7 separate regions of the Homo sapiens genome follow, and regions 1, 2, 3, 4, 5 and 7 are each linked to region 6. The links are contacts of gene promoters, found by promoter capture Hi-C in blood cells and fetal thymus (Javierre and others, 2016). All regions are on one chromosome and are shown on one strand. Each heading gives the region's core, a stretch centred on a gene start or on the middle of the fragment in contact. The rest is flanking DNA. Distances are from core to core; before and after follow the strand shown.

Region 1 (3,403 bases), core at 360-2,859, 540 kb after region 6:
GAGTGTTGAGCCACGGCCAACCTGCTTCCGGGCCTAGGGCACTCCCATCCCTGCCCCAACATGGTCCCACAGAGCTCAGGCACAGGCCACAAGGTTCCCAGCCTCCATCAGACCCCAGCTTTCCCCCTCTCCTGCTCTGCTCCTGGCTCCATGAGACAGTAGCATGCAGACTATGAACCAAGAAAAAGTTAAAAGCAAAAAGGAGAAAACTTGTTAAAACCACTGCTGTTTTTAAGGGTCAAGGAAGGATTCCTTGACCTGCCCTGGAGGCAAGAAAACAGGTCACATAAACACCACACCCCTTTCTCCAATCAGCCTAGGGTTACAGACTTACTTCTGTTAGGCAAAGACCTCCTTTCAAGAAGAGAATATGCTGGGCCACTCTGCAGATCTGGAGGAGTTTGGAGTAAGAGTGGGTGCCCCAGACATTGGACCAAGCATTCCACAGGTAGAAGGCTTGGAAGCTGGAAGCCCAGTGAACATGCACCTGGTTAGAGGGATCAGGAAGCCTCAGCTCTGGAGTGGATTAAGATGCAGGTAGAAACAGCTCAGAGTGGGTCTCTAATCCCATCTAATCCACTCTGGGCTCAAGGATCCCAGAAATCCCTTACCAAGCACTTTCTTTGTCTCACCCGCAGTGACCACCTCCCTCCCTTTCCCTTGGAAAGCCCAAGTTATCAGGCAGTGAAAGAACTGGCCCCTGACTCTGCTGCTATAACATCTCCCATGCCACACTGCTGCTTCTGAACATGCAGGCCCTTGAAACAGGAAAAGCAGTACCCACTTTCTCACTCCACAGCTCCACTCACAATTACCAACTGTTTACAGGAAAGACAATGAGAGTGCGTCCCCTGAGAGAAGGGGTTAATTATTACAAGTCAGGAAAACAGAGAGTTACAGTATGCTGACCCCCTCTACCTGAATACACAGTAACTAGTGCTGTTTTTGAAAACACCCAGGTTAGAGCCAGGTTTACATTTGACAAGCATCAGCTAATTACAACAATAATATGAACTACACAACAGCATCAGCATGGCTGATGAATCATTGAAAAGGCTGAGTGACTCTTAGAATGCCCAATTAATGATTCACCCTGTAAAAATGCATCTCCACGCTGGTGCCCAGATCTGGCTCATTATGTTAAAAGCTCTTACGCCACTGGGCCTTACATACAGACTCTAAATATCTTCAGAACTTTGAACTTTGAAATAAGTAAACACGAATATGCACTAACTAGGACTGGCTTCATGGGCACGCAACCTATGAGGCTAGTTATTCAGGGCCTGAGCTCCAAAGGGCACCACCCCCAACTTGGTTGAATGCTCTCTTGAAATTCTGAATAATTCTAGAACAGGGAGCCCCAGCATTTCCATTTTGCACAGGGACCTGAAAATGATGTTTCCAGGCTTGGGCTAAACTCTTAAAGAAGAAAGCAAGAGAAAGTGAGACACAGGAATCCACACATCAAGCCACTTTTGCCCCCATCTGAAGCAAAATGCCCCATTCTTTTAAAATTCTGAACAAGAGAAAGGTGTGGAATTTTTTTTTTTTTTTTTTTTCTGGAGGAAGTGTTTCGCTACATTAGAAATACCTTATGAGTAGGTCTGGCCCTGTCCTCTAAGCTAACCCCTCTCCTCCCTGACCACCCTCTGCAGAAAAACTCCTCTCTGACCTGCCGTGTCTGCAACCTGAGGTTGAGGTTGAGGGATAATTTCAGCTCTTTTCTGAGATAACAGAGAAGTCAGAGTCCTTGCTGTTTCCTTCTTCATAAAATGAAAGAGCATTGCGGGGGCAGCGGAAGGCAGAAGGGACTAAGTCAACCTTTCCCAGCCCTTTCTGAGATGTTCAAAAATGTTCACCCAGAGAGGGTCTCTATAGCAAAAAAAAAAAAAAAAAAAGAAAGAAAAAGAAAAAGAAAAAAAACCAAGTTTTGAAAACTCTGGGTCAAATAAAGTTAACTTTCTGAACTGGAGGACTTTCTCAGAACATTTAAAGAGTTAACAGGAATTGTGTGACTCTCCAAGCCTGGGGTGACAGCACTTTCCAAGCTCATTCTACTATAATTGATGTAACAACCCATCCACCCTGGGGAGTATTTACCATCAGGCTGAGGAATCTTGGACTTCAGAACCTCTCTGAATGCAGTGCAATGACCTGCACTGGTCATTGCAGAGCTCTGGAAGTACCCATACTGAGTGTTCACCTGGTCATATGCTTGGCTAAAATTTGCAGAAGTAAGATATTGCTGTATCCATTTTCTTTTCTTTCCTTTTCTTTTTTGAGAGGGAGTCTCACTCTGTCGCTCAGACTGGAGTGCAGTGGCACAATTTCAGCTCACTGCTACCTCCACCTCCCGGGTTCAAGTGCTGCATCCATTTTCTTAAAGAAAGGTCCTAAAATTGTGTGAGCTTTGGGACCCCCAAAACGCACATCCTCCTCTGCATCCATTTTCACATCTGGAGGCACCACCCTTACATCATAACTAACATCTTAACATGCACCCACATCTCGCATTTCATCTAATTTATAAATAACTGTAGGAGTTGAGTTGGAGCTGGTATAATGTCATTTGCTTAGTAGACTCATAATTAAACATTTTTTCATATTGGTTTTGCTCAGTTGCAAGGAATGTTAATTTTGGAGGCAACACTTTTTAAATTTCCATGTCACGATCATTTTCTTAGGTCCTGGGAAAGCATGTGGGCCCTGAGGACTAGGCCTACAGTGCAGGATGGATAAAATAGGGCTGCACTCAGCCAGCCTCTACAGTTCGAGAAATGCCATACTTATAGAGCAATACTGATTATTTTCATGGTCGTTTCCAATTCAGTGGAAATGTCGATTTAATATCTAATTCAGACTAAAGAGAGATTGGAGTGGTTGGGGGAGTCGAGTTTGGATTGCAGAAATTGAGCTTTTATTATTTTCGAGAAACAGCAGGTTTCCTTGAACTAGGTTAACAAGGTGTTATCTAACAAGACCTTAGGGGGCTGATTTAACGGTTAGGACAAGATTGTTGTGTAATTAGCTTATCAACTCTGTATATGTAAATGAAGGCTTTTAAAGTCTTAGGAAAACTGGCTCTTGCTCTTAAGTAATTTAACTGTTTCCCCTTGATGCTCTTCATTCTCTCCAGCTTGGACACTTCTTTCCTTAATTAAGCATTTATGGAAGTCCATCTTGTGCGCAGCACTGTGCCTAGGGATTGAAATATGAGTAAGACCCAGTCCCTGCTCTCCACCAGCCCATGGTCTAATCAGAGGTCCGCGAACCTTTTCTGTAAAGGACCAGATGGTAAATACTTCAGTTTTGCAGACCATCTCTGTTGCAATAATAACCCGACTCGGCCCTTCAAGTACAAACGCAGCCACGGACAACGTATCAACAAATGAGTGGCCATGTT
Region 2 (3,395 bases), core at 221-2,720, 560 kb after region 6:
CAGGATACATGTTCATTGAGATTGGTCATTGAAATCACACAGGAGCCAGGCTGACGGAGAAGCCACCATCTCAAACACTGCCAGAGAAGGTCTAGACACAGACCAGAAAGTCCTGAATCCACATTCAACTGCCTGTTCTTGAAAAGCCCCATCACTTGTGCTCACAACTCTGGCTAGAACTAGTCTCACGGCCCCACCCAACCGCAAGGAGCACAAGATGTGAATCCTACCACATGCTACAAAGTGAAGAAAACCAGAAATATCTGGTGAAGAGGACACTAACCACACACTACTTTCACCATCTCATCCCCCTCCCCACAAAAAAAAAAAAAGTATTTTCAATGATTTTTTTTAAGCTGAAGAAAAGTATGAGGAAAGATTTTTTTATATATAATCTTGGAGAGGAATATGCCTTCTATTCAAGGCATTAAACCCAGAAGCCATAAAAGAAAAGAATTACAGATTTAATTGCATAAAAGTGTAAAGTTTTTGCATGGCAAAATAATCTATAAATGAAGATAAAGTGACAGAACAGAGAAAATAGTTGTACCATCACATATAGCTGATGAAAAGTTAATATCTGTAATATACAAAGAGTACCTGGAAATTAATAAGAAGATTCAACATGCAGAAAAATGGGTACGTGGTAGATAGCCTTGGGTAGAGGATTTGGGGAAATAAATATCCTCAAAACTGTTGTTAGAAATATAAACCAGTTTTTCCTTTTTTTTTGTTTTTAGAGTAATCAACGTGCTAAATGCACATAAATTTAATGCACCAATTCTTCTAAATTCTACAAATACTATAAAATATATATATACATAATGCTATCATATAAAATGTTATTTGTGGCAATATTTTCAATTATTATATATGTACCATGTTGATCATTACAGAACTGTTGGTACAAAATTCTTTTAAATGCAGAAAAATACATATATTGCTTTAAAAAATCAGATATATCCACGTCATGAAATGCTGTGTTGTCATTAGAAAACATGAGGCAGTGTTGTAAATATGGTCATAGAAAGACGTTCATGATGGCCAGGTGCGGTGGCTCATGCCTGTAATCCCAGCACTTTGGGAGGCCGAGGCAGGCAGATTACTTGAGGTCAGGAGTTCAAGACAAGCCTGACCAACATGGTGAAACCCCATCTCTACTAAAAAAAAAAAAAAAAAAAAAAAAAAAAATTAGCCAGGCATGGTGGTGGGCGCCTGTAATCCCAGCTGCTCTGGAGACTGAGGCAGGAGAATCACTTGAACCTGGGAGGCGGAGCTTGCAGTGAGCCGAGATCACACCATTGTACTCCAGCCTGGGTGACACGGCGAGACTCCGTCTCAAAAAAAAAAAAACAAAAAACAAAAGAAGAAAGGAGAGATGTTCATGATACATTGGTTGGGTGAGGTTTCTAATAGAGTTATAACTCTCGTTTCTAACAGAGTTATAATGAATCCTAAGAGCCAAGTAAGACCAGGATATACCAGCCTTATTAGTAATCAGAGGGCTCAGTGGAGTGCCCAACCTCATTCCCTGAACCCAGACCTGACTTCACAAATTAGAAATCAATTTCAGTGTTTAAAAAAGTCCTATTATTACAATATGAATTCTTCTGGAATATTTAAGTATGGAAGGAAAAGGGCTCTAGAGTCACTTAACCTTGGTATGAAATGACATAATTAACTGGCCTAGGGCCACCCACCAAATGTGTTACAGAGCAGGGATTGAAACTCGGATCTGACAATAGAACAAGTACTTTCCACTTCAAGCCTTTCCTCGGTCCTCCAGCTTATATCCCTACGTTAACTCAGATCACCAGGAAGTTGCGTTCTGGGGATCAAGCCTTTGGTGTCCTTCCTCTAAACAGAAATGTTTCCCCCAATCTCCGACCTTAACACTATGGTTTGCCCTTCACCAATATAACCTCTGCTCTTTCTCTAAAAACTGGGGCCAATGATGTGTACCTTACGCTATTCATCATGCCTCTTAGGGAAACGGCACCTTAAAGACCTCTCCTGGGAGCAGTCCCACTGCACAGGCAGGCTCTTCCCTACAGTCAGGGAGAACACAACGAGCCTGCTCCCTGATCCATGCCCCCACCCCACCTCCCCGCCCACCACCACCAATTGCCTCCTCTGTTAGGACACTCAGAACCATATTTTGCCTTCAGCAACCAAAATGTCCCTCAGTCGGTCACTGGATGCAATTTTCTACTCCAAGCTACCTCTCCGGATTTTCATCTTTCTTCTGCATTTTGAGGTTCCATCCCACTGTGCCTTTTGTCTCATTGTACTTCCATGTGGCCCAGGCAGCCTAGGCAGGACGCCTCACTCCACAAGACCAGGGAAAGTTAAATTCTTTATGCCTCAGTTTTCCAGTCTGTACAATGGGAGAGGCAGTCACACTATCTCCCTCATAGGTTTTCCCTGTTGATTAAATGAGATAATGCATATACCGCACCTAACACAAAAAGCATTCCATAGAAGCTACAATCACCATTTTATTCCAAAATGGCTGAATATGGGCAGTTTCATGTGGTTCAGTGTAATAAGTTTTTTGACAGAAGTGGATAGGCTACAAATAAATATGACACACTTTCTCAACCCATCAGGCACAGGTGACATTTGGACAGTTTCCTATTTGGAAGGAAAGGTAACTCTGGAGTCCTGGCAGGTCTGGCCATAGCCTGAGAAGCTATTAGGCAGGAGAAGCCAGGGGACAGCTAAGAACCTGGCCACAGGACAGATGAGTCTCGGGAGGGAGATGAGAAAGTGGCAAAGAAAAATTAGGCTCAGATATTGTCAAACACACCCCAAACCCTACACCTTCCTCTGTTCAAGGTGTCCCCCAAAGCCTGCCCAAATCCCACTCATTCTTCAAAAGGCAGCTGCCCTGGCCCCAGTCAGCCTTCCCCCACCCAACTGATGTGTTCCCTCCCCACACCCCCACAGCATGCCTTTGGAAGGAGCCCGGGGCTCAGGCCTAAGCAGCAGCCTGCCTTCTATCAGCAGTAGTGACAAATGTGCCCACCTCCCATAGATGGTGAGCTTGGGCAGGCAGGTGCCTGGTCTTACAGTCTCTGTAGCCCCATAAGGCTTAGCTGGGGCCCTGAACAGAGCAGGCACTTAGAAAATGTTTGCTGAAAAGAAACTTCACTAAGCTCATAGTTTTCCCTGGGGGCCAGTCCTAGTGTTCCATCAAGAAGGGGGATATTAATCTTATAAAGCTTTTGCATTTGGGAGGAAGTGGGGTAGGAGGAAATTAAAGAAGCCCAGTAGGACAGGGACCAGTGGTAGTTGAGGAATCTCTACCCAGAAGGGCTGAGGGGCATTATTGGTTGGAAAAGTGGAACTGAGGACTTGTCTTGAAGCTGCACCGATGTAGCAAGCTCACTCCT
Region 3 (3,282 bases), core at 742-3,241, 580 kb before region 6:
AGTACATACTGCACGATTCTATTTTTATGAAGTTCAAAAGCAGATAAAACTAATCTATGATGTTAGAGATTAGAATAGAGACCGCCGTTTGGTGAGGGGTTACTGAGTAAGGTGTGTGAAGAAACTTTTGGTGTCCTGGAAGTGTTTTATATCTTAATCTGGGTTGTGTATAATTACAAAAGGTATGCATATGCAAAAATTCATTGTATTATACACACTTAATATGTGTACATATTTATGTGACTGAATTTTCAAGATTATTCAGAAACACCATTTTATAACCCAAAGAATGATCTAGCTGTAGTGGCTTCTATCTTCTTCACATTTGAAGACTCTTTTTTAGGCTAATTGTGAAACTGGTGATTGCTAATATTTTAATAGCACTGACCATGTACTTTGCATTCTTGTCGTACCTCAAAAAAGAAATCAACTCTATGTGATAAGTTTTATTGTTACCTGACTTCACAGGTAAGGAGGTTGAGGCACAGAGAGGTTTACCCATGAGGGGTTTCACAAATAATAAGTGACAGAGTCAGGACTTGAACCCAAGCATCTGTTGTGCTTTTAACTACAATGCTAGTTTTACACTTAGAATTACTTGAATGAGAAAATTTAGGAGTATATACAGGGCCTTTTAAGTATTAATCAAAGTATAATATAATTTCGGTACTATTTATGTATGTATTTCTTCTAGGAGCTAGACTTTCGCATGTCTTAAGTGTAAGGTATAGGCCAGGCGCAGTGTCTCACGCCTGTAATCCCCGCACTTTTGGGAGGCCAAGGTGGGTGGATCACTTAAGGTCAGGAGTTTGAAACCAGCCTGGCCAACATGGCAAAACTCCGTCTTTACGAAAAATACAAAAATTAGCAGGGCGTGGTGGCACATGCCTGTAATACCAGCTACTCAGGAGGCTGAAGCAGGAGAATTGCTTGAATCTGGGAGGTGGAGGTTGCAATGAGTGAGATCACGCCACTGCACTCCAGCCTGGGTGACAGTGAGACTCTGTTTCAAGGGGAAGAAAAAAAAAGATGTTTTTCTGTAGCTTTAGACAAACAATTTGTCTAAAATGTCAAGTCTATAACTTACAATAGTCATAAAAGTAACTTATTTTTCTTATAAAAATACTTATTTACTTTAGAAAAATAAGAAAGTATATTTAAACTGAAAGCAGATGCAAAAGACACCTATAATCTTAACTCTGCTAGCACCTGACTGAAATCCTTTCAGACATTTGTACATAATTTGTGTGTTATATACTCATTCAACAGGTGGGATCATATAGTACATCCTGTTTTGTAACTGTTCCCATTCAGTATGATGGGGACATTTTCCTCAGTCACTACGTATTCATTGTGATGAAATTTTATGCTAGATATGATTTTTTACTTTCAAACAGAAAATTACAGGTCCCACTTTATATGTGACCCAGTATTTATAACAGCAACCATTAAAAACTACTAAGAATTTGCCTGGGTGTGGTGTCTCAGCCTGTAATCCCAACACTTTGGAAGGCCGAGGCAATTGGATCGCTTGAGCTCAGTTGTTCGAGACCAGCCTGGGCAACATGGTGAAATCCCGTCTCTACCAAAAACATAAAAATTAGCTGGGCGAGGTGGTGCATGCCTATAATCCCAGCTACTTGGGTGGCTGAGGAAGGTGAATCACTTGAACCCAGGAGGTGGAGGCTGCAATGAGCCGAGATCATGCCTCTGCACTCCAGCTTGAGTAACAGAGTGAGACCCTGTCTCAAAACCAACCAACCAACCAACCAACAAACTACTAAGAATTCATCATTTACAAACATTGAATATCTACTGCTGTATTATCTCACATGCTTAAAAAAGCTTAACTGTCAAAGGAATTACTGTTACGAGTTATGTATAATAACTTAACATGTAGCTATTTCCCTTGTATGTATAAAAATATGGGGAAAATGGATATTTTAGAATGAGACTGATTTTATGTTACAACTTTTATATTTGTTTTCATTTGAGTAATAGAGATAATAAGACCAAATTAAGTTTTTTGAACTCCTTATGTGCATAGCACCCCCTAATACATGTATGAGGCCATTTAGTAGTTATTGTAAACTTTAGTATTAAATATTCCATAGAACAAAGAGCTTAACTAAGCTTATAGGTATTTTTTCATACTGTGGGGGCACTAATGATTAATGGAGGTGGCATTAATTTAGTCATGGAATTGTGGACTGTTTTATCATGGTCAACTACTTCAGAGTTTGGTATGTAGCTTTTAGGACTGATACACCTAAATATACAAATATGAACTACATCTGCCTGTCCTTACTCTTCATTTCACTCTGGGGTTTTTTGTTTTGTTTTGTTTTGTTTTTGAGACAGGATCTCACTCTGTCACCCAGGCTGGAGTGCAGTGGTGCAATCACCACTCACTGTAGCCTTGACCTCCCCGGGCTCAGGTGATCCTCCCACCTCAGCCTCCTGAGTACCTTGGGTTACCCTGCCCAGCTAATGTTTTTGTGTGTGTTTGTTGTTATTTATTTATTTATTTTTGAGACGAAGTTTCACTCTTGTTGCCCAGGCTGGAGTGCAATGGCACGATCTCGGCTCACTGCAACCTCCGCCTCCCAGGTTCAAGCAGTTCTCCTGGCTCAGCCTCCCTACTAGCTGGGATTACAGGTGCCCGCCACCACACCCAGCTAATTTTTTGTATTTTTAGTAGAGACGGGGTTTCACTATGTTGGCCAAGCTGGTCTTGAACTCCTGACCTCAGGCAATCCACCTGCCTCAGCCTCCCGAAGTGCTGGGATTACAGGCATGAGCCACCGCACCCAGCTCGTTCTTGTATTTTTTTGTAAGGACGAGGTCTCACCACGTTGCCTAGGCTGGTCTTGAACTCCTGGGCTCAAGTGATCTGCCTGTCTCAGCCTTCCAAAGTGCTGGGATTACAGGTGTGAGCCACTGTGCCTGGCCTATTCTTACCCTTGAAGTGTAGTATTTTAATTTATATATTAGATTCTTTGTATTTGGCTTACTTGGGAAAAGGAACAACCCAGTATATTTTGATTCACTGTAGCTAGAGTTCTCTATTATTTCCTAACTAATGGATTGATGGATTTATTACTATGTGTAGGTCTCTGCCTCAGTTTCATTTCCTGCTCTCTCTCTCTTTTTACTTTCAAAGTACTTGGTATTTTATAAACTCTGGAAGAAGTGGTTATGTTGATATTTCATAGTCAATGAGGTAGGGTTTCTGCTTCCTACAGTGGTAAAGTAAAATGAGTTATTGACATGAATGTGGCC
Region 4 (2,998 bases), core at 230-2,729, 590 kb after region 6:
CAGCCACCATTAGTAGTGGTAGTAGTGGTAACTGAATCCTATTATCCTTCAACCCCCAGTTCGTGTTCTACTGCCTCCAAAAAGCCTTTGTCAAGGAAAGAGAAGGTGGTAAGGAAATATCCAATTCCCCCTGTTTCTAAAGTAACCGCACCCCATGTTTTAGCTGGGCCACCTGGGTAAGAGGTTGTATTTTCCAGCCTCCCTTGCTTGTCTTTCTCTTTCATAGACACCCACACGTGCACACATAGCTTTGTTCCATCACCCTACTGTGTCCTCTAAGAAACATCTGCAATGAGCCCAAGATATTCTGGATGCTAACAGAAAGCTGATTTAAGAAACAGAAGATTTGGATCTAAATGGCTTGAGGGGAGTGGGGGAGAGGTGGGTGTGAGGACCCTGGGATTAGACTAGGGTTCAAATCTCAGGTCCTCAATCAAGCTGTGGGGACAAGAGCTAGCCTGTCCTGACCTCAATCCTTCACTTTAAAAGGAAGAAAATGGGGTTGCTGTGAAGAGGTAATGGGCTGGAAGAGGCCCTATGATAGAAGTAGTATGTGCAACTTCCAGAATGTATCCTTAACAGGAAAAGGTATAACTTTCTCCTTTCTACCAATTGCAATGCAGAGATGCTAGGGGTGCCGCCTTGGATTATAACATAATCTTGGGAATAGAGACCATGAACACAGAACAAAAAACTAGAGGGAGCTGGAGTTTCTAACACCACAGAGCACCAGTCCTGCACCACATACCTGCCATCTTTCACGTGAGAGAGAAATACATTTCTGTCTATCTTGCTTAAGCCACTGATATTTTGGGGTTTGTTACTCACAGCAAAGCCTGATCATAACTGATACAGGGAAGGATGGGAAAGAAACTGTTTATTAAGTTTCTTAAGCTTGTGTGTACAAAATGATGTCACATTCATGATTTCACTTAAATTCACATTACAACCCCAAGAGGCAGACATGATTATAGATTAAATAGAAATAGATGAGAAAACTAACACTCAGAGGCCGGGTGTGGTGGCTCATGCCTGTAATCCCAGCATTTTGAGAGGGAGAGCGAGGCGGGTGGATCACTTGAGGTCAGGAGCCTGTCCAACATGGTGAAACCCCATCTCTACTAAAAATACAAAAATTAGCCAGGCATGGTGGTGTCCACCTGTAAACCCAGATACTTGGGAGACTGAGGCATGAGAATTGCTTGAACCCAGAAGGTGGAGGTTGCAGTGAGCCAACATTGCACCACTGTACTCCAGGCTGGGAAGACAGAGAAAGACCCTGTCTCAAATTAAAAACAAAGCAAAATGCTCAGAGAGGTTGAGGTTGAGTGATTTATTCATGGTCTTATAGCTAACAAGAAATAGAGTTGGAATTCAAAACTAAAATTGAATAGATCAAAATACAAGCTCATTCTATGAGCCCCCTCTCATGTACTCAAGACCCTGGGCTAAGCCTTTTCTCATCTGCCACAGCCAGGCTGCTCCCTCACCACCCAAACCCCTCCACCCCACTTAGCACTTAACCTGATTGTCAATTGTTCTGCACCTTGTTTCCTCAAGGACCCAGAATGTCAGCTCCTTGAGGCCAGGACCCATTTCAGGAGGCTTAGTTTCCCAGGCTTTAGCCACTAAGCATTTAATAAACACTTGTTGAATGATTGGTAGACTTGAACACTTGTGCTGAAGACCAGAAAAGATGAGAAGAGGCCGGGCGCCGTGTCTCACTCCTGTAATCTCAGCACTTTGGCAGGCCAAGGCAGGCAGATCACCTGAGGTCAAGAGTTTATGACTAGGCTGGCCAACATAGCGAAACTCTGTCTCTACTAAAAATACAAATGTTACCCTGGTGTGGTGACGTGCGCCTAATCAGGAGGCTGAAGTGGGAGGATAGCTTGAGCCCAGGAGGCAGAGGCTGCAGTGAACCGAGCACTACACTCCAGCCTGGGTGGGAGTGAGCCCCCATCTCAAAAAAAAAAAAAAAAAAAAAAATAGAGAAGAAGGCTGGGGGCTGGGGCTGGGGCAAGCCTGTAACATACCTGCCCCAGGCACCCTGACAAAGCTTTCATCTCACTGGCCATGATGCTTTCTCTTTTTAATATATATTTTATTACATCAAGAAACAAAAGAGAAACACACAATTTATGTCGGCCTTTTATCAGCCAACATAAATGAGTACAGATTCCTAACTTCATTTCAGAGGTCTCCATGGCAATCAATATTGCCTGCTGACCAATTAAATCTAACAAGATGCCTTGGAGCCAGAGCGGGTCAGGCGAGGGTGAAAAACCAGGAGTCTAAGGACAGAGTTCTTTCAAAGGTGGTGGAAAGGAGACATACCCTGCCTGGGTCTCCAAGTTTTAAGTATAAATAGGAGGACTGCAATGGTGCTCAGGCTTCTAATGGAGGCTGAAACTGACATGTCTCAGCCAGAGACCAAGATCACCGCGGCAATCAAGGGTATCAGTCTGGCATTCCAGGACGGCTTCTACGTCATATGGGGCTTAGCAACCGGGGGTTGTGCAGGGAAAAGCAAGATCTACGACTAACATTGACCATCTCAAGTTCAGGCTAGGACCAACAGCCTCCACACTCTGCCCATTCAGTTGAACTATGGTGGTTGGGATAGGATTCCTCTGTGACTCAGTTTCCTCATGGTAAAATCACTATCAAACAAAAAAAAACAGGTATAATATTATTCAAAAAGCACATATTTGGTGCCGTGTGCTAGACCACGTAACTAGCCTTGAGAAAATTGCTTCACATCGCCATGCCTGAGTTTCTTTCACTGTGAAATGGGGATGATAACGCCCACTTGCAGGAGTATTTCAAGGGACAAAGGGATTACGGGCATAAACGCAGCTTCTGGCCGGGCTCAGTGGCTCATGCCTGTAATCCCAGCACTTCGGGAGGCCAAGGCGGGCGGATCTCCTGAGGTCAGTAGTTCAAGACCAGCCTGACCAACGTGGTGAAACCCCATCTCTACTAAAAATACAAAAAT
Region 5 (3,355 bases), core at 151-2,650, 520 kb after region 6:
GCCCACAACCACAGTGACAGAAGAGGAGCGAGATCTCTCTCTGCTGTAGGTCCAAATGCTACCCTCCTACAATACCAGCAATACTGATGCCACCAACCCCCATGATGGCACCAGGATGGGGAAGGCAGAAACAGGCCTCTGGTGCCCTCTGCTGTTCAGCACTCCCGTGCCACAGCCTGAGGGTTGGCACTGTGGCTGGCAGGGGGACCCAGGGAATGTCTCCAGCCCCTAGGGTTGCCCCAGCTTTTAGCAGCCCTCCATCTACTTCCCAGAAGGATCCAGGAAATGTGTGATGCTGAAGCCCTGGCTAAGGCAATGCACCCGCCAGATCACCCAGGGTGTGGTGTAGTAGCAAACAATCCCCAACACGAAATGGCTCCAAATCAGGCAGGTTTATTTAGCTGGACAAGCTCTGTGTCCATTTTCTAAGATCCAGGTTGAGGCAGTAGCCACCACCATCTGGAATGATGCTGGCTACAGTGACTGAGAGCAAGAGACTGAGGGCCTCACACAGACAGTGAAAAACTTCCACTCACAGCTCACTGGTGGGATCTATCACACAGCCCCACCCAAGCAAAAGAGGCAGAAAGTGCAATCCCACCAGGTGCCCAGAAGTCAGGAGCTAGGGACACTGAAAGGGCACATTCCTGACTACTGATGGCTTCCGGCTCATTCTCCCTCCTGCAAGCAAAGTACCTCATCCCTCCCCAGGGAACGCAGCCCTAGATCCGCCCCAGGGGCAGCATCGTCCTCAGGTGCAGGGTCTCAGGGCGGTATGTTGGCATCCCATATCAGCAGTGAGGGGCAGTAATCCCTGCTTCACACGTAGATGTGGTGCCTCTTGATCCAGTGACCTGCAACCTAAGAATCCCAGTTTCCTGCTGCCTGTTAAAATTCAGTCCTCAGTGGTACAGCCAGGGCTAGAGAGTGGCAAAAAAACACACCAGTAGGAAAGCAGAAAAATGAGAGCCATATCTCAGGGGATACTGCTCCATGGCAGCCCTGCCATCCCTGGGCAGACTTTAAGAGTCCCTGTCCTGGAGGTGGGCATCGTCCTTGATCAGGCAGCTCTGGCCTCTCCCCTGGGTATCTCTCCTCATTGGTTTTTTCTGTGCCCTGCTCCCTTCCCCGTCTGTCTGGCTGCCTCAGTTTCTCCTGACTTAATACCTTGTGCTGTGTGTGGCTCTGTAATGGCCACCTCACTCTTGAGTCTCCCAGACTTCTGAGTGGTCCCAACTTAGGGTCTCAGTTCAAATTCCAGACACACAGAGAGACTCCCATTTCACTGGCCTAACTGATTATTCAGAGCCAGGCACACAAGTCACAGTTATGTCCAGTTTCCGAACGGGCCGTCTGAACAGGGGATGCTGGAGAGACCCCACGCTGCCTGCACATCTGGTGGTGTGGGAGGAGAGCGTGGGCACAGCCATGAAGGATTGTTTTCTCTGAAACACAGAGCGTGGAGTTGCCCTTGAATGTACTCTGAAGACACATGATTTGGGAGGAGGAAGTGAGGTTTGGCCTTCCCCAACCTCAGACTGCTCATTGCTTTCTTTACTCCTCTGAGTCTCAGTTTCCTCATCCATACAGGGGGAACAATAATCACTGTCCTCATCCTTCTCCCTCGCTCACTCCTGTGGGCCCTCATGCCCCTGATGGAACCAGTCCTGGGTCCTGGCTGCCTGAGCTGGGTTCACAGTCTGGGGCTGACCTGTGGCCTGCCTCTCCAGAACATTTGCGTCTGTATAGAGAACTGTTGGAGACTGACAAGCCAACAGGATCAACCCGTAATGGCAAAATATAAGGCAGGGAGATGCCAAAAGAGAGAATACTTTGGTAGGAGGGAGGGAAGCACTCAAGATCTGCCTGGATAAGAATTCTAATCTCTGCTGCTGACTGTTCAGTTCCTCCTTCATGGAAGAAATGAGTCAGGCCTATCTTGAATGACAACTCTTGTTACCAGAATCCTCAGATCATTTCTAGGGTAACTCTCCTTTAAGGGATGTGTGTGGGGGCAGCACTTCGTAGGTACATGCACCCTGCCTCCCTGCCCCACGTGCTCTACATTCTCCCTGTGCTCAGAACTGTGCTGACTCGGGCACAGTTCTGATGATGCGGAAACTAGTGCAGCCCACATTTCTCAACCTCGGGGACGGATGTGCTGCCTTGTTGTATTTTTGTTCTTTGAAAACCTCTGCTTTTTCTTCTACCCATCCACCTCTTTAGCTGCTAATCGGGGGTGGTCTGAAGACCCACGTCGTGTGTTTATTTTATCATGTTTCCAAAGCTGCAGTCATATCTCAGCAGGGGGCTGCACCATCCACATGCCTTTGAACTCAGAAACCCCCACGTGGGTTTTGGTAACCAGGGCTGGCATATCCCCACTCGACAGCACTGTGTCCTTAGCCCACTGCCCACCTGGCTCCCCCTACCTCGCTGCCCCTGCCCTAATACCCTCCTGCAGGGTTCCTCCAGGGTCTCATCGTGGTCCAGTCTCTGGGCGCTAGCACAGTCCCCTCATTCCCTACCCACCCTCACTGCTCAATGCAAACCCTGCCTCCTGCCCTCTGTGACTTAGAGCTGTCTGCTTAAACTCTCTGGACTACGGCCTCACTGTAACAAGAAAGGATTTGAGAAAGCAGAATTTCCCAGCTCTGGATCCTTTCTTTCCCCCATCTCCTTTAAAGCATATCAAGAAAGAATGGCAGTGAATGTTGGTAGAGTGCTTTACAGTCTACAGAATATGAGCACATTCATGACTTTGTGTGAAGTCACTGATAGCCCCTGGGGGTAGTTATTCTTACTATTTCTGTTTTACAGAGGCAGAGGCACAAACTGAGACTCAGAGGGGTTCAGTAACTTATCTAAGGTCACACAGCTAGTTTAAAGAAGAAAAAAAGAAATGGCCAGGCATGGTGGCTCACACCTGTAATCCCAGCACTTTGGGACGCCGAGGCAGGCAGATCACCTGAGGTCAGGAGTTCAAGACCAGCCTGGCCAACATGGTGAAACCCTGTCCCTGCTAAAAATACAAAAATTAGCTGGGCATGGTGGTGTATGCCTGTAATCCCAGCTACTTGGGAGGCTGAGGCAGGAGAATCACTTGAACCCAGGAGGTGGAGATTGCAGTGAGCCAAGATTCTGCCACTGCACTCCAGCCTGGGCCACAGAGCAAGATTCCATCTCAAAAAAAAAAAAAAAAAAAAAAAGGATTGGGATTAAATTTCAGGTATTCAGACCACATGCCCTTCCTACTTTAGCAGATGATGTCTCTCCCCCCTACTCTGGCTAATGGCTGCAATCCTTATCGCCCACAGTAAGAAGAGACTTAGGGTGCAGCTCTACCCCACATCCC
Region 6 (3,260 bases), core at 664-3,163:
AGAAGCCTCGGCATTTGTCAGCGCTCCCCCACCCCGCGTGGTTTTGACTGACAGCTCTGGCCGCGGACTGACAGGGCCCAGCAGCTCCGCCAATCAGCAACGAAGAGCCCCTTCGGCGGTCCGTGATTGGTGACTCGCACCTTGCTCGGAGGCGTGGTCGGCGTCCCCCACGTGGGGCTGGAGCGAGAAATGGGCGGGGCGAGTAAGAAGCGGGTGCGCCCACCCGTGACGTAAGGGGGAGGGCAGAGAAGGGGGAGGGGGAAAGGAAGCGCCAAAGAGGAGCCATTTTGTTTCTAATGAATGCTGCGGCCAGATGCTCGCATCTGTCGAGCCGGGCTTCTCCCTCCCCCGTCTTCGGTGCGCGCCGAAACACGATTTATGTTTTTATTTAGGAGAATAAATAAATGAAGAGGGGAGCGCGGTTCGGGGCTGGCGGCCGGAGCGGGCGCGGGGAGGTTCAGTTCTGAGGCGGGTGCTCACGTGTAACTCCCCGCGCTCCGGCCTCCGAGCGCCCGCTAGCTCTCAGCTCCTCATTAAGATGCAAAAGCGAACCTCCGGCTCCTAATGAGGGGAAAATATAGATCCGGGGACGCGCGGCCGGCTCGCGCGCGGGCTCGCGGACTTGCCGGGGAGGGCCCCGGGGGTCCCGCCTTGGCCGTCCACCGGGCGGTGCGCGCTTTGAGGTCCACTCCCTGCTTGCTCGTCTGCCCCGCCGTAACCCCGAGCGCGGGAGGGCGAGGCCATCGGTTTGCGGGCAAGCTGGCCCCGGAGTCGAGTGGCCTGTGCGACCAAGCGGGGGGTCCGGGGGGCCCGGGGCCGGGGCGAGCGAGCGGGGGAGCGTCCGCGTCCCTCGGAGTGTCCAGGCTAGCGACCGAGACACCTACAGGCTTCCGCCAACGCCGTGGCACTGCCGGGAGCAGGCTGAGCAAACCAGGTGGGAACTCGGAGTTCCCGGGCCTCGGCCGAGCAGGGTCCCGACCCCATCCCCAACCCCCTCAGCCTGGGGATGCAGTGAGGAGCCCGCGCGGCGAGGCTGCGTCGAGGGTGAAGTTGTGCCCACGGGGAAGGCGCCCCGAATGGGGCCAGCCGTGGCTGAGCCTGTTGTCCACGGGCAGCCGGGCCCTTCCATCTGCGCTGCCCGCCTAGCCAGAGTCCCTCAGACTTCTCCTCGCAGGCAGCCGCCGCACATCAAAGGAGCTGTTTATTTGGCTTTCTGAAAAGAAGGGCGAGTGAACAAAGGAGAGCTGGGGGCTAATGTGGGGGAGGCGGGCAGAAGAAGGGGTGAAGAAAAGGGGACATCCTGAGTTCCGAGCAAATTTTTAAAGGTCGGAGGCAACTTTAGGAGCCACCGTTTTATCAGTCCTAAATCTTTTGAAGTGAAAACATTAAAGTGACAAAGTGATTGTTTGTTTTATAGTATCTAATTGGGCTGCTTTGCAGACCTAATGAGATTAGAGGGAGGAATCGTTCGCCGCCGCTGCAGAATAAACTGATACATTACTACCAGCCACAGGTTTTGAAGATTGTACAGCTTGTCTTATTTTCTTTTGTTGTTATTCCTCTGTCTTCCCTCTTTCCTCCTCCCGCTAAATAATTATTTGCTAGTAGACCGTGGGAAAAAAAAGGAGGAAAAAAACTCGAGCAGCCCAGGACTATAATATATATCTATTTATTATATGTCTTTCGGTTAATTCCTGATCTGAGGAGCGCTGTTTTTCACTCCCATGCGAAAGTCACCAGCGGGTAGGGCCTGATTGCTACTTTTCATGCATAGTTTTAGACACAAGAGGGCATTGTGACGTCGCGCCCAGCGGCACCCAGTCGTAGGCCGAGTCCCGCAGCCCCACGTGGGGGCCCCGCGCTCCCATTGGCCAGCGCCGGACGAAGCTGCCACATTATTTTGTTACTTTTCAGTCCCTATTTGGAACTGCTCTCGCGGCAGTTCAGACCTCGTGCTCGTCCCCTTCGCCTGTCTGTGTGTGGTATCCGTAGGTCCGGGGCACTTTTTTTTTTGGTGTGTGTGTGTGTGCGTGCGCGCGTGTGTGTGTGTTGGGTGTGTGTGTTTTGGGGGTTTGCCGGGGCGCGGAGAGGAGAGCCGGGCCGAGGGGAAGGAAGGAAGCCGTAGAGCTCCCCGGTCTCGGGCTGCGTCTCCCCTCCAGCGCTCTCCTGCCTGTGCGCTCCGACGCGGCAGCGGCGGTGGCGCTGAGCGCTCCTCGGTGGGGACGCGGTGCTCAAGCTGGGAGCAGCGAGAACCCTTTGCGGAGGCTTCCCGTGCCCGCTGGACTTAGGATGCCAGGGCGTTTGATTTGCACCTACTGAGCCCGGAGTTCCTCCCCGGCCCTGGGAAGGGCTTGCAGCGGCGGCGGCGGCGGCGGCAGCGGCAGTAGCAGACGGAACAGCAGGCTCTCCTCTCCGAGGGGGGGCGTCGAAGCGCCCGCGCCGGGCTCCCGCCCTCACCCTCCGGCGCTCCTGCGGCCCCAAGCCACCACCTCGTAGCCCGCCTCCTTCCTCTTCTCGCCGCGAGCCCCAGGCCCGGACGCCTCTAGGATCGGACCCGCGCGCCCCGGATGCTTGGGGCTGCCCCGGCGCGCCCCCCTACAGGCGCGACCCGCTGAGTGACCCGGAGGGGGCCCGAGCTCGCCCCAGGAGGGGCCCCCGGCCTCGGGACCCCGCGCCGGACCTGCTGGGGAGCCGACGATGTCCGCGCAGTCCCAGGCATTGACGCGCTCGACGCAGCCCAGGGAAGGCGGCCGGCCGCTGCCCGCCGAGCCCTAGGCGCACAAAGCCCGCGCCCGCCGCCCGGCCCCGGCGCCCGCCGACGACTTTGCCGCCTGCTCCGCGGCTCTTTGTCTCCACTTGGGGCGGGCGCCCGACTCTGGGATTTCGCTGCGAGAACGAGCTGGGGGGGCCGGGGGCGAGCTCTCGGTTTCCCGGCCGCCCCCCGCTCGGGCTCGGCTCCCCCCTCCCCCGCACCTCCCCGGCCCGGGCTCTCGGCGCTTCCACGCTCTCGGAATCACGACCCCTCCCTGCCATGTATCCGCAGGGCAGACATCCGGTGAGTAATTGCAACTCGGTTTATTTAAGCATCTATCATGGCAGGGTAAACGAGGCAGTTTATCTGGCACCTCCATTTTGCTTGTTGCTACCTTTATGGTGTGTGTGTTTGTGTGTGTGCTCTCACACAAAGGGGGATGCGGCCGGGGGGCGCCGTTGAGAGAGGAGGTTAATTCCGCGCGAGTGGCGCGGGGGGCTGCTTGTGT
Region 7 (3,384 bases), core at 533-3,032, 610 kb after region 6:
GTACAGTCCATAGCATGCACTCACCAAATGCCAGCTTCCTAGGCTGTCATCCACAGCCCCCACACTTCCTTCACTGTGACCTTGGCCATTTCTGTGTGTCACCACCATGCACCATGAGCTTAATATTTTTCTATAACTTGACTCACTTTAAAAACTCAAACTCACTTCCACAAATAGAAAACCAGTAGTACTCAAAAGGCATTTATTCATGTGTTTAATCAATAATTATCCAGCACTCACCATGTACCAGGTACTATTCTGGGGGCCAGGGGTGTAGCAGTGAACCAATGACCCCTCACCCTCATAGAGCATGCTCTCCAGTCAGACAGCAAACAGAATATGACATCAGTAGCTGTGCATGCTGTAAAAATGAAGACACCAAGGAACAGGGCTAAACTAGAGGAATGGAGGAGCAGGAACTCATGTAGTGAGGTCAGCAGAAGTGAATTTACCCCGAGGTAATAAAGCTAAGCTTTAGGGCCCCTTGCTCACTTGGGTCCCTTCTTGTTCCCACAATAAATGCTTCCTGACCAAATTTTGTATTCACAATTGTGTATTCTTTTTCCTAAAAACCACTCTCAAAAATCACATAAACATCAGGCTCCACAAAGCTTGGCTCTGCTCCCAGAGGTCATGAAAGGCCTCTCTGAAAAGGTGACATTTGAGCATGGACCTGAATAATTAGAAAGGAACCATTAAAATGAGCAAAGTAAGATTCTTGGCCCTGAGACAGGGAGCCAAGAGATTCTGAAAAGGTCCCAAGTTATCTGCTTTGTAGAGTTAAAAGGCTACATTTAAACTTATATCTCAGGTCAGATCTCAAATAAAGGTGACCTGAAAGTTTCTGCATCTCCCCAGAGTCCCCACCCGTGCTAAGGCCTCAGCCAGGCCTGAGAAGCAGGCATGGGAGACAGCAGGAGAGCTTAAGAGTATAAGAAGCACTGGTAGGCCTGGGGTCACAGGGAATGGCTGCAGATAGAGACAAGAGGAGGAAGAAATCAGGACAGACAGTACCAAGTGCTGATGAGGACGTGGAGCAACTGGAATGCTCATATACTGCTAGTGGAAATGCAAAGTGGTATAGCCACTCTGGAAAACAGTTCAGCAATTTCTTATAAAATTTTCATTTTATTCAACCTATGGCTCAGTCATTGCTCTCCCTGGTTTTACCCTAGAGAAATGAAAACTTATGTTCACACAAAAATCTGTACATGGCAGTTTCTAGGAGCTTTATTCATAATAGCCAAAACTGGAAAAAAGCCAAAAATAGCTCAGGTGTCCAACAACAGGTGAATGGATGAACAAATTCTGGTCTATCCATACAATGGATTACTCCTCAGCATGACAAAGGCACAAACAACTGATCTACCCAACAACATAGTTGAGTCTCACAGACATCACGCCGAGTGCAAGAGCCAGACACGAAATAATCTGTCTGTATAGCTCCATCATCCAACACTCCAGCTACCCCAACCGAAAGCAGGTGGAAGGCAGGTACAAAGGGACATGAGAGAACTTCAATCAAAGAGAAGATTGAAATGTTCTATCCTTTGATTGTGGCATATTATGCCCTGGTTACAGATGCATACACTGAGGCCTATGGTCACATAGCCAGCTACATGGTGACCTACCCTGCCTGGGCAAAGCGGGCAAGCCCAGATCCTCTGATCTGGAAGCCCAATTCTTTCCCTTCCCTCTTCTCCATACATCCTCCTCCATGCAGAGGGGACATGAGCTGGGAGACCCTTCACTGAACCCCAGTGGCCCAGAGCCTAGCACTGGGCTGGCAGAGCCGAAGAGAGAGTTAGAGGGAGCTCTGAGAACTCGTGAGCTTGTAATTGTGGGGCTGTGGCTAGGCGCCACTGTAAGGAAGCGCTCCTTCCTGGGCAGGGCACACCCAGTGGTGTGAGGGAGTGGACTGGGAGGTAGCCCTGGCTTTACCCAGAAAGATCCTGTTTCCCCTGGCACTTTTTCCAGCATGGTCTGCCAAGAGAGATTAAGATCACAAAGAGCAACACGATGCTGCTGGAGAAGGAGATTAGTGGATTCTGGGGTGCTTGTCTCCCTGAGAAAGGCGGTTTGTTTGAGATCTGACTCCAATCCCAGGATGAAGCTATGCCAGGTCCCACTGGAGCTGACATGAAGAGAGAGAAGGCCCCTGAGGCAGGGAGCCTCTGGCCAAACCTAACAGGATGGAGCTTCCAGAATCCTGAGGGAACCATGGAGGAGGCTCTGGGGTCCCATGGGAGCCGTAGCTCCAGCACCTCCTGCTGATGGTGAACTCTGCTACAGTGTTGACTGAGAACACAGGTGGCCTTGGTCCTGCAGAGCTGGTCCAGAATGGAAAGAACCTGGCTGGTTTGCTCCAGAGTGCGATGGCCTGGACCCACAGGTGTTGGGGGAAGTTCGTCACTCAAAAGGGAGGGGAAGGACTAGCCAGTTGACATGGAGGCTGGCAGAACTTTTTCAAAGTAAAATGTAAAACGTGAAAGGTTTTTGATGTTATCGCTGTTTGGAGCACATTGAGACACCTCCTGGTGACCCAAGAATCTTCTGTCGCTTTTCTACTACCTGCAGTGGCTTTAGAATGGGAAGATTAAGGAGAAAGTTCCAGGCCCTACGATTGGGCCAACTGCAGGGAAGAGATAAAGAAACAGCTGAAACTCACAGTGAAAGGAAAATCAGACGCCACTGAGGCAGCAGTCTGAAGCCAACGTGGATGGGGACAGTTTGCAGGAATTTGCATCTTACAGGGCCTTGGGTTCCCTCAGGCATGAAATGAGGACTTCAGTCACGCCCTTTCAGATTTTCAGGGGCTGGGGCCACTGGCTGCCATCTGAGATACATGTTCACAGGGGATGGGAGCAGATGGAAAAGCTAACACGGTGCATCTTCTACTCTCAAAGAGCATCCAGTGTAGTTCAGCAGGTGAGCCAGGCTCCCAGCAAGCTTAGGAGAGTAGAAAGGGGCACAGCGGAAGGAACAGAGAGAATGATGGAAGGAGATGGAGGGAGAGGGAGAGAAAAAAGAATGGGAAGAGGGACCAAATAACACTCTTGCTATCAGAATCAAAAGCAGATGGAGGGCGGGTAAAACAGGACACAGAGAACTTTCTGGGGAGATTGAAATCTTCTGTCTTTTGATTGTGATATATTATACCTTTCCCTTTGCACTGCGCACAGGGCAAGAGACACATTGCACGTGTTCTGGAATTTGGACTCCCACCAACTGCTAATCTGCTCCTAGTTTCATCTCCCCCAGCCACTTGTACCAATGCCCTCTTGACACCACTGCAGACCCCCTTGTCCTTCTTTCTCATCCCTGTCAGCCCCGAAGCTACCAGCTCCACGCAGCTTTGCTTGTTTTGTGAAGGTGCAAGCTGTC

What was found. Contacts are between HindIII fragments. The CHiCAGO score rates a contact against its expected background, and 5 or more counts as called.
Region 1: a contact is called between a fragment that was not itself captured here and the fragment with the promoter of TLE3 in region 6, in 1 of 17 cell types (activated CD4 T cells). The highest score is 5.3, in activated CD4 T cells.
Region 2: a fragment that was not itself captured here is called in contact with the fragment with the promoter of TLE3 in region 6 in 4 of 17 cell types (M2 macrophages, M0 macrophages, neutrophils and 1 more); the score reaches 6.9 in M2 macrophages.
Region 3: a fragment that was not itself captured here is called in contact with the fragment with the promoter of TLE3 in region 6 in 3 of 17 cell types (naive CD4 T cells, non-activated CD4 T cells and total CD8 T cells); the score reaches 7.4 in naive CD4 T cells.
Region 4: a fragment that was not itself captured here is called in contact with the fragment with the promoter of TLE3 in region 6 in 2 of 17 cell types (erythroblasts and M1 macrophages); the score reaches 7.1 in erythroblasts.
Region 5: a fragment that was not itself captured here is called in contact with the fragment with the promoter of TLE3 in region 6 in 15 of 17 cell types (M0 macrophages, total B cells, naive CD8 T cells and 12 more); the score reaches 15.3 in M0 macrophages.
Region 7: a contact is called between a fragment that was not itself captured here and the fragment with the promoter of TLE3 in region 6, in 6 of 17 cell types (erythroblasts, non-activated CD4 T cells, M1 macrophages and 3 more). The highest score is 8.3, in erythroblasts.

The regions. Positions count from the first base shown.
Region 1 is chr15:69,555,265-69,558,667 of GRCh38, reverse strand. No RefSeq gene overlaps it. Among named protein-coding and RNA genes, the nearest start is that of DRAIC, 4.8 kb to the left of the region's middle. RefSeq lists enhancers at 1-104, 105-608. The HindIII fragment of the contact is 3,982 bases long and covers 1-3,403 here.
Region 2 is chr15:69,532,027-69,535,421 of GRCh38, reverse strand. No RefSeq gene overlaps it. Among named protein-coding and RNA genes, the nearest start is that of DRAIC, 28 kb to the left of the region's middle. The HindIII fragment of the contact is 3,513 bases long and covers 1-3,226 here.
Region 3 is chr15:70,672,347-70,675,628 of GRCh38, reverse strand. All of the region lies in intron 13 of UACA (uveal autoantigen with coiled-coil domains and ankyrin repeats), which reads left to right. Among named protein-coding and RNA genes, the nearest start is that of SALRNA2, 39 kb to the right of the region's middle. The HindIII fragment of the contact is 288 bases long and covers 1,848-2,135 here.
Region 4 is chr15:69,505,607-69,508,604 of GRCh38, reverse strand. No RefSeq gene overlaps it. Among named protein-coding and RNA genes, the nearest start is that of LINC02896, 44 kb to the right of the region's middle. The HindIII fragment of the contact is 1,165 bases long and covers 897-2,061 here.
Region 5 is chr15:69,572,946-69,576,300 of GRCh38, reverse strand. No RefSeq gene overlaps it. Among named protein-coding and RNA genes, the nearest start is that of DRAIC, 13 kb to the right of the region's middle. The HindIII fragment of the contact is 4,104 bases long and covers 1-3,355 here.
Region 6 is chr15:70,096,570-70,099,829 of GRCh38, reverse strand. It overlaps TLE3 (TLE family member 3, transcriptional corepressor), which reads left to right and starts at 1,913. Exons shown (of 20, transcript NM_001105192.3): 1 at 1,913-3,055. The coding sequence starts at 3,032. RefSeq lists enhancers at 1-593, 681-1,655 and silencers at 586-735, 806-885, 2,475-2,644, 2,655-2,774. The HindIII fragment of the contact is 8,963 bases long and covers 1-3,260 here.
Region 7 is chr15:69,483,593-69,486,976 of GRCh38, reverse strand. No RefSeq gene overlaps it. Among named protein-coding and RNA genes, the nearest start is that of LINC02896, 23 kb to the right of the region's middle. The HindIII fragment of the contact is 2,338 bases long and covers 614-2,951 here.